Regions from separate parts of the Homo sapiens genome. Here region 1 is linked to region 2. Evidence: promoter capture Hi-C in 16 types of primary human blood cells and fetal thymus (Javierre and others, 2016). All regions are on one chromosome and are shown on one strand. Each heading gives the region's core, a stretch centred on a gene start or on the middle of the fragment in contact. The rest is flanking DNA. Distances are from core to core; before and after follow the strand shown.

What was found. The method cuts DNA at HindIII sites, captures the fragments that hold promoters and counts their contacts. A CHiCAGO score of 5 or more calls a contact.
Region 1: a contact is called between a fragment that was not itself captured here and the fragment with the promoter of C10orf126 in region 2, in 1 of 17 cell types (endothelial precursors). The highest score is 5.4, in endothelial precursors.

Annotation. Positions count from the first base shown.
Region 1 is chr10:29,249,590-29,254,595 of GRCh38, reverse strand. No RefSeq gene overlaps it. Among named protein-coding and RNA genes, the nearest start is that of LYZL1, 37 kb to the left of the region's middle. The HindIII fragment of the contact is 2,148 bases long and covers 1,700-3,847 here.
Region 2 is chr10:28,844,302-28,849,944 of GRCh38, reverse strand. It overlaps C10orf126 (chromosome 10 open reading frame 126), which reads right to left and starts at 3,537. Exons shown (of 5, transcript NR_164114.1): 1 at 3,482-3,537; 2 at 2,682-2,826; 3 at 1,579-1,729. The HindIII fragment of the contact is 7,202 bases long and covers 1-4,295 here.

The DNA of each region.
Region 1 (5,006 bases), core at 1,524-4,023, 410 kb before region 2:
TGTCTGGGGAAGTTCCCTTCCGTGCAGCCAATCTAACTGTGTGGATCAGAGCTTTTCTGGGACAGAGCATATTTACTGCAGGCCAAGTTTTGCAGAAATTTTTAAGGAAAGAAGGGGATTTAAGGTCTTCCTCTTCTCCCTCTTCTTCTCTCTTATTCCTTCTGTTTTTCTATGAAAAAGAACTGAGGAATGGCAGGCTCTTGAGCTGCCTCCTCCTCCTCCCCATCCTCCTCCTCCTCTTCCTCCTCCTCCTGTTCTCCTCCTCCTGTTTTCCTTCTCCTGTTCTCCTCCTCCTCTTCTCCCTCTCCTCCTCTTCCTCCTCCTCCTGTTCTCTTTCTCCTCCTTCTTCTTTTCCTTCTATTCTTCCTCCTCCTTCTCCCCCTTCTCCCCTTCTTCCTCCTTCTCCTCCTCCTTCTCCCTTTCTTTCTCCTTATATTCTCCTTTTTCTTCTTTTTGTTCAAGGTTTCCAAAGCAGAATCAGCTTTGGTAACTCTGAGCTGGTGTGCTGTGACTTATAGGAGAACATACACGTCTCACTCCAAAGGGGTGTCAGAAGCTGTGGAAGTGGATGAATGGGAAGTTTGCTTTGAAGAAGCTAATTGTCAAGATTCATTTGCTATTCAGGTTCTCCTCTTGCTGGCCTGGGCAGTGTATAATTTGTCCCAGTAAGGAGCTGTTCACTTTTTAATCAGATTGAAGCATGCTTCATTGCTATAGGTGTCCTGCTGAAATCCAACCCGGTTATATTTCACTGCCAATGTGGGCAATTACACGAGCCATTTAATATATACTTTTGTCCATGAAACCACTTGCTGTAGAAACTCCCGCATTAGAAACAGCTTGTAAATAATCTGCTGCCTGAGCATTTCACCTGCTGTAATTTCTCCTAAAACCACAGCATATCTACTTAGTGACAAGTCCAAGTCATCTGCTGCACAGCTTAGGTCATCCAAGGGTTGACAGCAGAGATGTCTATTTCAAATGACAACTCCAGCTGACTTCAGCCCAAATTCCATCCCTTTTCCCTATTGCTGAAAATGGTCTGCTCTCTTTGCAACGTATGCAAGCTATTTTTCCCCCTTTTCTCTTTGAGCAGCCATAAAACGTTACAGGCTGTGCTGTGATCATTCTCTTTATCCCATAAGGAGAGAGGAGAGGGCGAGCCTGTGGGATGAATGCACATGGACTTCTCTTGGCACAGACATGATCTGGAGCAAGGCGTTGGCATGCTCCAGACCTGGGGCGAACGTGACGCTCCCCTGGGTGTCTCGCTGCGAACAGAATTGAGCCAGAAGACGTTGACTCGAACATTCCTGTGACCTTCGGCTGCACGGAGGAGTCATCTGCTTCTTCTGCAGCAGACGGGGCTGATGATCCCCCAAGGAGATGTCAGATTCACTCTCAGGATGGAAAAACCAAAGCAACACTTGAGCTCATCTCTGCTGTCTTTTAATCATCTGCCAGATCAATAAACTGCTCCCTGGGACTGGATTCTTCAAGACAGCGTCTGGTATGGATTCTCTGCGTGGTATAAAGTCCATTGGCTGGAATAGGCTCAGGCTTGCAGCACGCTTTCCAGCCCAGCCAGCCAAGGCACTGAGCTGAGCTTTCAATTTGCCCCTGCCCTGGACGTGGGGACTCTGGGTCAAAGCCCCTAAGGGCAGTGCCCCAAGTGTACCCACACAGGATGAATGAAGCTTCTTAGATGCTCCTGCCAAAGGTAGTAAGGATGGATAGAGGTACTGAGGTGGCTTCCCAGACAGAGGACTTGCCTCAGGGACTGTAAGGATCAAGTCAGGCTTAGCTACCGTCTTGCAACTGTGACAACACCTGATACTCACACTTGAGTTTCCCTATTCCCAACACATACCCAGGATATTCTGGAATTCAACTGATCTCTCAGGCTGAATGCCTTTATTAGTGTTACTATTATTTTGAGAGAGAGAGAGAGAGAGTCTTTCTCTGTTGCCCAGGCTGAAATGCAGTGGTGTGATCGTATCTCATTGTAACTTTGACTTCCTGGGCTCAAGCAATCCTCCTGCCTCAGCCTCCCCAACAGCTGGGATTACAGGCACACATCACCACAACTAGCTAATTGTCTTACTCTTTGTAAAGATGGGGTCTTGCCATATTGCCCAAGCTGGTCTCAAACTTCTGGCCTCCAGTGATCCTCCCACCTTGGCCTCCCAAAATGTTGGGATTACAAGCATGAGCCACCATATCCAACCTGAATGTTCTAATCCACAACTTGGGGTTGTTAATACCTGTCTTCTAGAATGGTTGGTGAATCAAGTGAGATCACGGCAGTGCATCACATTGTTTATGATGTGATAGGTGTCACAGCACATGGAAACATCTAAGCTCCATAAACCTTTAAAAAACCACTTGCAAGGTTGATGCCCTGCCAAGTTGTCAGGAGGGGAAACTTATTTTGTCTGCTTGCCTTAGAACATCCTTCCTCCAATTTCTGAACACCTAGGGTCTTTAATTCGACCTGACCACACTGCTGGAATTCCATTTTCTTAATCAGTGACTTGGTTAATTCTCAATTCTTTATACTGATGGAAGCTAGGATGGTCCTTTAGAGGCTCTAGATACTGCAAGTGTTATGGTGCTCCTAGAAATTCAAGATAAAAATATACAATAAATACAATAAAGAGCAATCAAGCTCTTATTTTCTTTAGATAATGACTTCAGTAGTGTGTTTGTAATTTTTCACATCCATTCTTTTCCAAACTGTTTTGGGGATCCCACTTTGTCGACACCTGAAGGATGTGCTCAGTCTCTTTATACCAGGTAACTCTGATCTGATTTCTGTCAATCACCCCAACTTTGCTTCTCTGCTCACCTGCTGATGAGCTCTAAAGTCTTAGAGTCAACAATGGGAGGGGGAATGACTACAAAAGGTGAGGTGAGAACAGCACACAGAAGCCATTGTGGTGAATGTTGCTTTGGTTACAAAAACCAGAATCCAGAAATTTCAGAACAGGAAGGGCCTCAGAGTTCATCTCATCCAGCTTTTCCCTCCCCAGCAGGTGCAGGTGAAGCCAGTGAGTTCCCCGGGGACATTATGAAGTAGTGAGCAGAGCATGGGCTTTGCAGCCAGAAGGCATGGGTGTTCTTACATTTAGAGATGCATGGGGGTGAAATAATAGGATGTCTGGAAAGCAATCCTGACAAAACAAAAATAGACGAAGTAAATCTGGAAACCGATGAATAACTATTCAAGCTAGGTGATGGGCATGAGAGAGCATGATCTATTTTCTCTACTCTTCTTATGTTTGAAAAATCTAGTAATAATTTTTAAAAGCCAGCATATGTGGATTCCCATTTTGACCTTGACACTTTTCGAATAGGTGATACAAGGCTGCCCATTCCACCTCTTGGCTTCCTCAATTATAAAATCAGGATATTGATGGTCATCACTGTTTGAGGATATAATGGGGTGAGGAATAAAACTCCTTTGTTAACTCTAAAGTACTACACAAATGTAAGTTGTTTACTGATTAAAGCAGAACATATATTAATCAAATACCTGATGCAACAGCTTATAAGTGGCTCAACTGGGTCTAACACTGCTCCCCCAAATGGGAGTTTTCCAACATGGAACTTCACGAGGAACCCTGCCTCTGCAGGCAGCTTTGGACATTTGCAGAGGGTGTAGTGACATAGACTTTAGTCCAGGTTTCCATTCAGGGGCATGACTGGTGTGGAAGGAAGGACAGAGGAGGAGGCTTGGCTGCAGCTCCTTGGCAGACAGAGAGGGTCTCTTTTCTTTTGCTATTGATTTCAGGGCATCCAATGCTAGCAACTTGCTTTTTTATTTTCAGCGGGGACCATGAAAGCTTGATGAGAGTGGGGATAAGAACCGAGCCTTCCTTGTCGCCCCTTCTTGGGGGATGATGACTGGGGCTGATGCTGGAGGGTGCCTGGGATCACTTTTTGCATCACTCTGGACCAGATGGCCCTTGGCCTTTGGGTGTGTCCAGTGTCACTGTGCTGTGCTGTGTGGGAGGACAGGCTGCCTAATTCACCACGTGCACCACATTGGACAAACCAGTGTTCCTGCCCAGGTTGCATGTCCTAAGCCAGAGAATGGGCCATTAACATTTGTCTCATAGGATGGTTGGTGAATCAAGTGAGATCATGACAACATATCATGTTGTTTAGGATGTGGTAGGTGTCACAGTGAATGGAAAAATCTCAGCCTCATAAACATTTTTGAAAGCCACTTGCAGGGTTAATGCTCAGCCAAGTTGGGAGGAGGGGAAACTTACCCTGTTGGCTCACTTTAGAGCACCCTTCTCCCAAGTTCAAATACAAAGGGCTTTTAATTAGGCTTCTTCCTTTCCACGCATTCCAACCTCTCCCTCCCTTTCCTCCCTCCTCTCAAAAGCTGCTTGGAACTAGCTGTCCCACTAAAACAAGTCCATCTGCTCATTTTTCCCTTTTACTAGGGACACTTTCATGTTACTGGGACCACAAAGTAAGCCCCCAAAATGAAATGATATTTGAGACCTGTGGTTGTCTGTTTTGCATGGTTATAAAGGAATACCTGAGGCTTGGTAATTTATAAAGACAAGAGGTTTATTTGGCTCATAGGTCTGGAGGCCGTATGGTATCGGCATCTGCTCAGCTTCCAGTGAAGCCTCAGGAAGCTTTTACTCATGGTAGAAGGGAAGCAGGTGTGTCACATAGTGAGAGAGGGAGCAAGAGAGAGGAGGAGGTGCCAGAATATTTTTAACAATCATATTTCATGTGAACTAACAGAGCAAGAACTCACTCATTACCATGGAGTGCACCAAGCCATTCATGAGGGATCTGCCCCCACCCCATGACCCAAACACCTCCCACCAGGCCCCTCCTCCAACACTGGGGATCACATTTCAACATAAGCTTTGCGGGGACAACCATTCAAACTATATCAAGACCTGTGGGACCCATCAATGGAGAGGGGACCTGGCATCCAACCCCACGCAGAGGAACACAGCGTAGGTCAAGATGTG
Region 2 (5,643 bases), core at 2,288-4,787:
TTGATTTAGAAGTGCAAGAGATTTGGGGTGGGGGGTAATATTTGTAAAAAGCGTAAGAGGAAATATCAAGATTGCCCAAGCATGGAAAGCCTTCAGATCACGATGCAGATTTGACACTTACAAAAGGAAAAAGGGTAGAAAACAAGATAGACAAGAGAGAGCCTCAGATTTTGGTGGGTCAGACACGGATTTGACCAACATGATGGGAAGCTCTGGAGCAAAGAGGATTCCTGTGTTGGACAGACACGGCCTTGGTACCACCATGGTGCCGGTATTGGCTGGGAGCTGCCCAGAAAAAGTGTGGTCTTGGTTGAAAAGCTGAAGCAGATCCTCCAGGTGCTGCAGCTGGAAGCTGTCGGCTGGCTACACTCCTTGAAGCTGCCAGGTAAGTCCTTTCTCCAGTGAAGATCTGAATCATTGCACACCTCAATGCCTACCTCCATCCATCCCTGCAGGGCATCCAGTAATCTTCAAAACATCTGGGAGTTTTTCCCCAGAGTAGAGTCACTTGAATAAATGTCTTTTGGGGAAGGACAAAAGGAATTATACCCATAGACTTGGTGTGGTGTTGCTGGGTCCTTCATCCTGGGAACATGGCCACCCTTTCTATTGGGGGATTCCAGGTCTGAAAACTGCCTCAGGTTCCAGGTACTAGACAAGGAATTGCAAATGTTTGATAGAGCAAACACCCTCAGCCTCCTGGGCATCCTTGTTGGATTTTTTTTTTTTTTAATACAAGGTCTCACTCTGTTTCCCAGGCTGGAGTGAAGTGGCACAACTTCAGCTCACTGCAACCTCTACCTTCTGGGTTCAAGTGATTCTCCTGCCTCAGCCTCCAAGTAGCTGGGACCACAGGTGCACACCATCGCATCCAGCTGATTTTTGTATTTTTAGTAGAGACAGGGTTTCACCATGTTGGCCAGGCTAGTCTTGAATTCCTGACCTCAAGTGATCCACCCACCTCGGCCTCCCAAAGTGCTGGGATTACAGGTGGGAGCCACTGCGCCTGGCCTGTGTTGGCTATCTTTTGATTAGATGTATTGAGAAGTATCCTCACAAGATTCCCATCTGTTTCACCCCATCATCACTACTCTCTGTGGATTCAACTCCACAACAGCCTTTCACACCACCAGTTGTGGTCTGCAGAGGAAAGCCTTCAGCTAATTTCCCAATGGCTTGGTGAATGCTGTGTTCTCCAGACCTCCCTGGGCATAATAATCCTCTGATGGGTCTTCTGATCGCCATAATATACCAGCATGTTCACTTCCCTGAGCCTTTAAAAATCTGTTTCAGCTCCGCTCAGCATGGACCTATCTCCAGGCTTGTTGAACCACCCAAGCAGCAAGTCTGCACCATCCTCTAGGGTCTTTGCCAAGCATTAAGTCCCATATCCTGAGAAAATGCCCTCACATTCCTGTATTCTCCTTTATCCTGCCTCCTTGATCAAGCGCCTTCAAAATCCAGTTCCTTCCTTCTAGTACATGGGGGTGAATTTTTCACAGTTTGAGGGAGGTACAGTCTCTTTCTAGCTCATCAGTGTTGCCATAATATTCTTGGCTTGGTGATGTTGCGACTTACCTCTAGTGATTGGTCTGGCAACCAGGCAAGAAGTTGAGGATCCTGAGAAGCCCTCCTTGGCCCGTGGGGACAGAACTCTGTGGTGTTGGCCCATATGGGTAGTTTCAGATCATAACAGGGAAGGATGAGCCACCTCTGCAGGCTCTGAGGGCTTAGAAGAGTTTGAGAGCTCAAAATATTTGGAGGCATCCACCCAAATGTCCCCATCCCGTGCACAAGAGCTCCATGTTTTCCCAACCAGTGCTCTGATCTTTGTGTAATGATAATCATCTTTGAAGCTAGGCAAGCCTATTAAATCCATAGTTTGGTCTTCTGCTTTTTCTACACTGAATGGAGTGAATATGGGCCCCATTCCTGGAGGCCCTCAGGCCTTCACAAGTGGCTTTCAATTGCTCCCTAACTGCCTACAGCTTTTCATTATCCTAATGTAGAGCCTCAATTCAATTGAGCAACAAGCAGCCAATTCCATTGTCCTTGGATACCTTGCTTCTCTCTGACCTCTCAAATGCCTGAATCCTCTCTCCATCCGGGGCTTTCCCGTCCACCAGAACATTCTTCCAAGTCACTGACATTGAACGTTTTAGGCAGGGCTCAGTGGCCCGTGCCTGTAATCCCAACACTTTGGGAGGACAAGGCAAGAGGATCACTAAAGGCCAGGAGTTCAAGACCAGCCTGAGCCTTGCTCTGTTGCCCAGGCTGGAGTGCAGTGGCATGATCATAGCTCACTGCAGCCTCGAGCTCCTGCGCTCAAGCAATCCTCCCGCCTCAACCTCCTGAGTAGTTGGGACTCCAGGCATGAGCCACCATGCCTGGCCGCAACATTCAGATGGATTTTTAAACTACCTGAGCTAAGTTAATTTCCTCATAGATTGGATGTGGATGTGAGAGCAAAAGAAGAGTCAAGGATGACCCAAGGGTTTGCTTTGAGCACATTCCTCAGTGCTTCCAGGGCATATGGCCTCTGAATGGTGCCCATGGGCTTATAAATCCATCTCCTCCCAAGAGATAACACATTTATTTTGTCCCTGGACCTTATGAAAGTTGTCAGAATCAAAATAGAATCACTAGTGTTTTTTAAGGAAAACAACAAACAAACAAAAAACCTGAACTGGATGCAGTGGTTCATGGCTGTAGTCGCAACTCAGGAAGCTGAGGCAGGAGGACTATTTGAGCTCAGGAGGTTGAGGCTGCAGTGAGCTATGATCACACCATTGCACTCCAGCCTGGGCGACAGAAAGAGGCCCATCTCTAAAAAACAAACATAAAAAGACTTCACTCTCATCACTCTTGAGATTAAGGATTTACCTAAGTAGTAAAATATGTCAGATCAGATTCTGGCCTCAGGAACTCTGAATCTGGGATGTGAAAAGGTTTCTGGAGAGGCATTCTGTTTCTCATATCATTAACCACAGGAAGATATTATTTGGTATACAAGAGGACATTGCTTAAAGAGGTGAGAAACAGAAACTATCTCTCCCTTATATTTCTCCAAATACCTTGTAAAGTTGTGAGTTAAAGAAAAAAGAATGATGTTCACTCAAAGGGGAGATGCAAAAATAAAAAGGTAAAACCTTTTCCCTTACCCTAAGGAGATAATGTGTGCATTTTAAAAAAGTTCTAATATTGTTTCTGCAAGTCAATATATAAGCATTATTGAAAAGTCCAATCTTGCCTGTGTTTTACAGCTCTCAGCTCCTTTCAGGAAGCAACTAAATCAGAAAACAGTGTTCTCTCTTCCTTGGAGCTGGCACAGGTTTTGATAACATCGATTGAATGCCAAGCGTAAGTACAGATTGGAAGTTAGAAGTATTGCTATTGACCGTTTTCTAATATGTCCTTCAGCTCAGTAATTAATCGATTTGTGACAAAATGAATAAGAAGCTGAGGTCTTCTAAGAGCTTACCATGTGGCAGACGCGAGCTCAGTGCTGTACATTCGCATTCATGCTCTTCATCCCTGTCTCTCAAGCCACTCGTCACACCCACACTCTCCGGGCCAGGAGGCTTGCACAACCTGCACTGGGAAACTTTCTCCCACCTGTTCTTGACTCCTGAAACCCCTCCACGGTGCCATCAGCCTGATCCACTAATAGCAAAACGCCTCACATCCCAAACTAACTTCCAAATAGTCCCTCCTTGTTCTGACAAAAACTGACTCTTCCCTGAGGACGATGCTCACATCTTCTCTCATGCGCTGGCTGTTTTTCTTTTTCTTTTTTTGAGATGGAGTCTCCCTCTGTAGCCAGGCTGGAGTGCAGTGGTGCGGTCTCAGCTCACTGCAACCTCCACCTCCCGGGTTCAAGTGGTTCTCCTACCTCAGCCTCCCAAGTAGCTGGGATTACAGGCACACACCACCACACCCAGCTAATTTTTGTATTTTTAGTGGAGACGGGGTTTCACCATGTTGACCAGGATGGTCTCAATCTCTTGACCTCGTGATCTGCCCGTCTCAGCCCCCCAAAGTGCTGGGATTACAGGCGTGAGCCACTGCGCCCAGCCACTGGCTGTTTTTCATTCCAGGCCCTCCTGCCACCTCCTGCAGACCTGGAGGTGATGGAGGGACCCTGCTGGTCCTCTTTTCCCCTTCCAGAACCTTCTCCTTCCCTTCTACTGCAAATCTCGTACCATCATCATCTATCACCCCTGAAACTGTCCCTAGAAACTTTATACAATTAATCAGAAGAGAAGGGAGGGAGAGAAACAAAAATAAGCCAAGCTTGCACATACTCAGTGTTAGTCATGGGGTCAGCTGTTCTCTGATCCTTCCTCATAGTGTTTTGCTACCTATTGCTCCAGAATCACACAGACCCTGTCACAAGATTAGAGTCCCCCTTCACTGCTCCACAGATAACAACTGAACATTGTGAAATGTTGCTTTCCATTTGAGATATTCTTGTAGGTCATGCATACTGATGAAACTACTGACGCCAGCTGGTCTGAAGGACCCCACGAGAAGCTGACTCACTGAAGAATGCAGTTTCTACATCCTGATGATTTCATCCCCCTTTCCCCAACCAATCAATGACTATAGTTTTTCAGCCCCTCACCCCCCATAATCCCCTTGAAAACCTCAGCCTAGAACTCTTCGGGGAGATGGATTTGAGGGTCTTCTCCCATCTGCTCACTCGGCCTCCCTGCTGTCATCAAACCCTCTCTCTGCTGCAAAGCCTGCTGTCTTGGTGTATTGGTCTGTTTCTGCACAACAGGCATACAAACATGTTGGTCCTGTAATACCCCTGCCCAACATTGTTCACCACCTTTTTCAACAACATCAGTTCTCAGCCCATTGGCATCCTCCCCAATACTTCTCCTCTCTTTTCTGAGCATGTTCAATGCATAGATAATAATCTTTCCAAAACTCCACCATCATAGGTCATTAAACTTCTCTCCTCCTTCAGGCATCTTGACCTCTACCCTCCTAGAAACAGTCACTCACTTTGATGGCAATACATGGATCTTGTCATGCACATTCATTGCAGTCCTTAGCCCCTTTTAACTTCTAATTACTCTGGGGCTCAGTCGTTGCTGTTGTTTTCATCTCTGTCTCTACTTACTCCGTTGGAGATCTCATGTGGTTCCATGGCTTTAAATACTACCCACACACTGATAACTCCCAAATGAATATCTCCAGTCCAGTCCTCTGTCCTGAACTCCAAACCTGCATATCCAATAGCGTACTCATCATTTTCACTTGAATATCTAAAATACTTCTCTAACTCACACGTCCACTACTAAACTGATTTTCCCTACCTATCCCACTGTACCCACAACCTTCCCCATGTTAGTTAGTTGATGACAATTTCGTCCTTGTGGCCTAAAACAGAACACTTCTTGGATTCATCCTTGACTCCTCTCTTTCTCCCCTATCCTACATCCAATTCATCAAGAATATCCCTTGTCTCTTTCTTCAAAACACATCCAGATTCTGACAACTTCTCACTGCCTTTGCTGCTCTTATTCTGATCCCAATACCATCTGGAGGACTGCTCTAGCCTCCTGGAGGCTGCCTTTACTGCTCTTGTTCTGATCCCAATACCATCTGGAGGACTGCTCTGGCCTCCTGAAA